Regions from separate parts of the Homo sapiens genome. Here region 2 is linked to region 1. The links are contacts of gene promoters, found by promoter capture Hi-C in human tissues and cell types (Jung and others, 2019). All regions are on one chromosome and are shown on one strand. Each heading gives the region's core, a stretch centred on a gene start or on the middle of the fragment in contact. The rest is flanking DNA. Distances are from core to core; before and after follow the strand shown.

The links. Contacts are between HindIII fragments. The study calls those that stand out against the background at their distance.
Region 2: a fragment that was not itself captured here is called in contact with the fragment with the promoter of PSMD12 in region 1 in 1 of the 25 tissues and cell types used here (aorta).

Annotation. Positions count from the first base shown.
Region 1 is chr17:67,364,401-67,367,944 of GRCh38, reverse strand. PSMD12 (proteasome 26S subunit, non-ATPase 12) reads left to right here and starts at 1,368. Exons shown (of 11, transcript NM_002816.5): 1 at 1,368-1,533. The coding sequence starts at 1,426. RefSeq lists enhancers at 1,163-1,472, 1,493-1,552. The HindIII fragment of the contact is 13,722 bases long and covers 1-3,544 here.
Region 2 is chr17:67,002,357-67,005,456 of GRCh38, reverse strand. The region is part of intron 1 of CACNG4 (calcium voltage-gated channel auxiliary subunit gamma 4); the gene reads right to left. Among named protein-coding and RNA genes, the nearest start is that of CACNG4, 39 kb to the right of the region's middle. The HindIII fragment of the contact is 4,892 bases long and covers 1-3,100 here.

The sequences.
Region 1 (3,544 bases), core at 119-2,618:
TTGAGGCCAGGTGTTTGAGACCAGCCTGGGCTACGTAGTATAGCTGCTATCTCTACAAAAATAAAAAAAAGGTAAAATTTGTTTCTCCTCTACATTACAGATTATAGCTGAGATATTGTCTTATTTTGCTTGTAGATGGTTTATATTTTCCCTGATTTTCATTGCAGTTAAAACAAACAAAGAGATCTATTCAGCATCTATAAAGCGATGTCGGCACTAATTAAATTGAGAACCACTAACATAATAGATAAACCACTCCAAGATTTCCCGTTTTCCTGTTTGCTTTCCAGGCTGCTGTTGACCATATGCCCACACCAAACACAACCTCATTCCCATTTTCTTTACTTTTCTTTTTCTTTTTTTTTTTTTTTTTTGAGACGGAGTCTTGCTCTGTCGCCCAGGCTGGAGTGCAGTGGCGCAATCTCGCCGGCTCACTGCAAGCTTCGCCTCCTGGGTTCACGCCATTCTCCTGCCTCAGCCTCCCGAGTAGTTGGGACTACAGGTGCCCGCCACCACGCCCGGCTAATTTTTTGTATTTTTAGTAGAGACGGGGTTTCACCGTGTTAGCCACGATGGTCTCGATCTCCTGACCTCATGATCCGCCCGCCTCAGCCTCCCAAAGGGCTGGGATTACAGGCGTGAGCCACCGCGCCCGGCCTCATTCCCATTTTCAAGGATCCTAAGCTTTTTTAAGATCTCAAGCTATTTTCTAGGGACCAGCATGGTATGAATGATAACACATAAAACGTGTAAGGCCCTTAAGAATTGAAATTGTCTCACATGTCATCTAGTTTGATGCTCACGAAAATCCTATAGGGATAACAAATATGTCTTTTTAACTTTTCTTTTTACCAACTTAGTGGATTACAGTGAAAATGAAAACAAAGAGAAAAACCACTTTGCTTATTAAATGACTGAGCTGCTGCCATATCTTCTCTTAGGAGCTTTCAGAGATCCCACAGAGTAAGCCACCAAGATTCTCAAGTAGATAAAACCTTAGAATTTTCTATTTTAAGGTTTATTTTAGCCTCCTGATGTAGAGATGAGAAAACCGAGATCCAAGAAAAGCGACTGGCCACGGTCCTGAGAAATCATATTTCGAAGCAGGGGTGTAGGGATATATGAGATGGTCTGTTCTATTACACTCGCTTTTCTCATCGCAAATTTTAGGTAAAAAGTCTGATGTTCCCAGAGACAAAACCTGACGCTGCAGGCTGGAGTGGCGAGTCCCGCCCCGCGCGCCTCAAGCCCCACCCCCAGGCTGTCCGCGGCAGTGCCTGAGTGGCAACCAGCGCCGGGGACCTCGAGGGGTCCTTTGCGTGGGCTCCCGATGGGCTGCCTGAGCGGGTGCGCGGGCAACTTCCGGTGTGGGTGACGAGTGGTGGCCGAAGCAGGGGGACAGCAAGGGACGCTCAGGCGGGGACCATGGCGGACGGCGGCTCGGAGCGGGCTGACGGGCGCATCGTCAAGATGGAGGTGGACTACAGCGCCACGGTGGATCAGCGCCTACCCGAGTGTGCGAAGCTAGCCAAGGTGAGGAGAGGCCGGCTGGCTGTTGGCGGGCGCCAGGGGCTGAGTCACGGCGCGGAGCCTGCTTAGGCCTCAGGGGGCCTGCGGGCTGGAGCGTGCACCCCCCAATGCCTGTCCAGCCCTAGTTGGGCCTGCACGAGTGGGAGACCCCAGGTCGGCCCGGCCAGGGCTGCGGAGTACGCCAGCGCCTATAGCTTCCCAGACCCTCCCCAAAACAGATGGTCACTTCCCTCCGTGGGACTTAGGGCTCCGTTTAACTTTTTGCCGTTTCTTGGATGCTGTTTAAGTGATATTTACCTTAGTAGTTTCCCAGGGGTTAAGGCCGCTTCAGTATTAAGGCTAGATCAGAGAGTTTCGTTCTGTTGCTGTTGCTCAATCAATTTATGTCGTTACATCGTTTGTGGATCATGGCTATGTGCCTGGTCTTTGGCCAGGAGAAGGGGCAGGAAAGTGATAGTACGAAGATGACTAACACAGGACCCTGTCCTTTAGGAGTTGATGTACGTGATGAATTAGTCAAGTCATGCATGGTGGTGAGGGCCATACAAGGGGAAAGTGTTACTGGAACACCGAGAAGGAAGCTATGCATTCTTAATGGTGCCATAAGGGAAGGTTTTACAGGAAGGCTGACGTTTGTATTGGGTCTTGAGGAATTAGTAAGATTGAGGTGGGGTGGAGTCATTACTGAAGACGGAACTACAGAAGTAAAGACAAGTAGGCACTATAAGAGTTTAACGGGCTTTCCAAGAAACAAGGATGGAGAAAGGTGATAAAGTTGGTACGTATGTATATCTTAGGTTCAGTATGCTTGCTGAGGGGGAGCCACAAATTCATTAAGAGCTTTCTAGCAGCTAGCATCAACAAACATCAGTTACATAAGGGTGGGAAAACTCAGCCGCCTCCAATGCCAGACAGATAACAATAACTGATATTTGTTGAGTAGTTTCTGCAGTGTCAGGCACCGTGCTTACATGCACTAAGCCATTTGATCCTCACCTCAGCCCTATGCGATGGCTATTACTATTATCCTTATTTTACAGGTAAGAAAACTTGGGCTAGAAAAAGTTGAATCACATGCCCCAAGATCATACAGCTAGTAAAGTGGTGAAGCCAAGAAGCAAACCCAGGCAGACCGATTCTAGATTCTGGAGCTGGTGCCCTCACACACCATGCTGTCCTGCCTAGAAGCCTATTGTAGTGAAAACCTGAACTTTTTTTTTTTTTTTTTTTGAGACGGAGTTTCACTTTTTTCACCCAGGATGGAGTGCAGTGGCGCAATCTTGGCTGACTGCAACCCCCGCCTCCCGGGTTCAAACGATTCTCCTGCCTCCGCCTCCCGAGTAGCTAGGACTACAGGTGCCACCACGCCCGGCTAATTTTTGTACTTTTAGTAGAGACGGGGTTTCACTACGTTGGCCAGGCTGGTCGCACGCGACCTCCTGACCTAAAGTGATCCACCCACCTCTGCCTGCCAAAGTGCTGGGATTACAGGCGTGAGCCACCGCGGCTGGCCAAAAACCTGAACTTTCGAGCACCTGCCCAGGAAAAGGAGACGGCAGATCTTCACCTTCAGATAATCTTTGCCAATTGGGGATGAAGGCCGAGTATTGTCGATGCTGCTAATTTGAGGGAGAAACCAGGAAGATGAATTTCTCATTAAATACCTTAATATTTAGAAATTGGATACTAATCTGTCATATTAAAATACTATTTGAGCCAATACAATGTAGCTAGAACAAAACATACAGGCCAAGGTCAGCCCCTGAACCTCCACTTTGGAATTAATAGAATGATAGTGTCCATAAGGAAGAAACAAGTAATTTGCTCTAGAGAAGGACAACCAAATCTTCCTTTTATGAATTTCTGTTAATACCAGTCTACTGTTTGCAAGACCTAGTCAGTGTTAGACACTATGAGAAATACAGAGATTACTAGACAAAGCTCTTGCCCTCGAACAGCTTATAGATCAGTAAGAAAAAAGACTTCACTGCTACAGTTGTTCTGGTGATCTTAT
Region 2 (3,100 bases), core at 590-3,089, 360 kb after region 1:
AGTGATTCAGAGGGGCAGAAGGTGGGTGGAGAGGGAGTGGGCCGTCTGCCTTGCACTACACCCATACTGAGGTTCTGATGGTCCTCAGGGGTGTACCACTGGGGAGCCCCTTTCTCTGGGAATGAGTCCTTCACACAGAACTTCCCCCATGGCCCTGCATGACATGGCCCTGCCCCCAGCCAAGGCTCCTGGGCAGACCTCTGGCCCAAGCTGGACCAATCAGAGGTTCTCTTGGAAGTGTATATTTTGGATCAGAGACAGAGGAGACCCATGGACTAAGGGACTTTTGGGAGTTTTTAAAATGGTGTTCTTGAGTGGTCCAGGATGCCAGATATGGAGGCTCCTGCCTCTTTCCTTCCTTCATCTTGGCTGTTAAGCTCTCCCTTCCATCCTTTGGGACGCTTCCACATCCTTCCGATACATTCCTCTTTGGGACGGGGCAGGGTGCCTCACAACTGTAATCCCAGCACTTTGGGAGGCTGAAGTGGGCGGATTGCTTGAGCCCAGGAGTTTGAGACCAGCTCGGACAACACGGCAAGACCTTGTCTCTACTAAAAGTACACAAATTAGCTGGGCATGGTGGTGCACGCTTATAGTCCCAGCTATGTGGGAGGTTGAGGTGGGAGAATCAACTGAGCCTGGGAAGTCGAGGCTGTAGTGAGCTGAGATCATACCACTGCACTCCAGCCTAGGTGACAGGACTGAGACCCTGTCTTAAAAAAAGAAAGTCCTCTTTGTGGATCAAGTCAGAGAAGTTGGTTTATGTGCTTGCAACCGGCAGAACTCTAACCCCCAACCAGCTGTACCTTCACTGGGGGAGGGAGATTCCAACCTGTTTTTCCAGGGCTCCAAAGCCCAGGCTCTACTCCATGTCTCAGCGCAGGTCTGCAACACTTTCTAAGACACGAAAATAAGCATGGGTTCCCTGGAGACCACAGGGCTCCAGGGAAAGGAAGGATGTTGTATCGGGGATGAGGATGCTGAGCACCAGCCCCACGCTGCGTGGAAGCTTGTGGCTGGTGCTCATCTGAGGTCTCATCTGGCTCAGCGAGTTCTTCAAGAACCCACAGCACCAGCCTCACGCCTCCTCCAACACTTTGTTCCAGAGAGGGCCAGGATTTTCCAGGCTTCCTGCCGAGATTCATAATTAAACGGAGCCGGAGAGATTTCCCCAACCAACCGCTCCTTTTCTCTCCTAACACAGGGGAATGGGTATTCAGTTATTGTCTCTGTGATTTTTCTCCTTGCATCTACTGGATAACTGCTGCTTGGATGAAACCTCAGTACTAAGGGTTGTTGTTGTTGTTGTTTCTTTCTTCATTTCTTTCTTTCTTTTTTAATGAGGAACAACTAGGGAGCTGTAAAGGGCGAAACAGCTCTCTGCAGATTTCAGCTTTTCCGTTGGTTTGCCTCTGCAGATCTCTGGGAAGTTATGCTCCAATAACCTGAGAGTTTTAATTGAAGGGGCTGGGCAAGAGAGGGAGCATCATAGTAGATAATCATAAACTTCTAGAAGGGACCCTTGGGATCATCCACTTCACCCCACTCACTTCACATATTAAGAATTTGCTGCCTGGAGAGGTGAAGGGCCATTTCCATGGTGATAAGCTGATTGGTGGCATAGCCAAGCTTTGACTGTTGGTCACCTGACTTCAAGTTTAGAGCTCTGTTACCCCCTGTCCATTGCCTGCTCTAGTGCAAGGTTCTCTACAGGGGGTGATTTTGCCTCCCAGGTGACATTTGACAAAGGCTGGAGACAGTTGTGATTGTCACAACTTGGGGTTGCAGGGCGAAGTGCTACTGGCAACACGTGACCAGGGATGTGCTAAACATTCTACAATGCACAGGATGACTCCCTACCCTGCCCCAACAAATAATGATTTAGCTCCAAATGTCAATAGTGCAGTGGTTGGTGATGAATAAATGTCCTGCACAGAACTGAGTCTTCCCCTTCTCAGCCCATGGCAGACATTACTAATCAATCACAGTACTTTTCTCCCCTGATCACAGTCTGAATCCTCAACACAGTGCTCCATTCAGGAGCTACTAGTTGATAAAATACCTATCGATCATCCTTTGGCTGGATAGCATAGAGACAGTACGTTCTGAAGTCATTCTGCTTGGGTTTGAGTTCTGGCTTTGTTACCACCTATTAGCTGTATGATCTGGGGTCCTAATTCACTTCTCTGTGCCTCATTTTTCCCATCTGTGAAATGGGGATCACAAATGGGGATAAACCGAGGGTGATTTGGGGGATTAAACAATTGTATGCATTTTTTAAATGTCACTGTGCCTGTCCCATGGTATGTACTTAAAACATGTTTGCTGTTGTTATAATCAGCCCTGTTCTAATAACAAAGAGTCAGCTGGTCTTATTGTCAGAAGTGAGCAGGCCAGGTTTGCCCCCTATCAGGACTGACACAGACTCTTCCTTGTCCACATATACCCATAATACTGTGTCTTCCAAAAGAAGCAGAGCTCCCCTGACTCTTAGAAGGCCCAGCAAAGTAACCCTGTTTTTCCCTGAGCCTCATGACTAATGGACTAATAAGTGTTGGCTTTGGTTGAAAACTATATTCCCTGCAAAGCATGTGCTAAGCTCTTTCCATTTACTCATTAAGCTTCAAAAACAACTTATGAAGGGGGAGCTTCTATACACCCATTTTACAGATGAGAAAGCCAAGGTTCAGAGAGGGCAAGTAACTTGCCCAAGGTAGCACAGCCAGGATTCTCTCACCTGCTTCTGTCTGATCCTACAACTAGTGCTGTCACTGCTATGATTCCCTGCCTCCCTATTCTATTTGAGGATGGAGAGAGAGAGAGAGAGAGAGAGAGAGAAAGAGAGAGATGAGAGGTGGAGAGAGCCAGTGTCTGGGAGGGCACACACCTGCCAGGTCTGCCAGGTCACCAGTGCTTTCTGGCAACCAGGCCAGGATGAGGGAGCACACATGCATTTCTGGAGTACCTCCAGGGCTGAGAACAGTTCTTCCAGGGCAGCCAGATACCAAGTTCCAACCCAGTTTTTAAGATCCCTCTCACCACCTCCCTGATATGGTTTGGCTATGTCCCCACGCAAATCTCATCTTGAATTGTAGCTCCC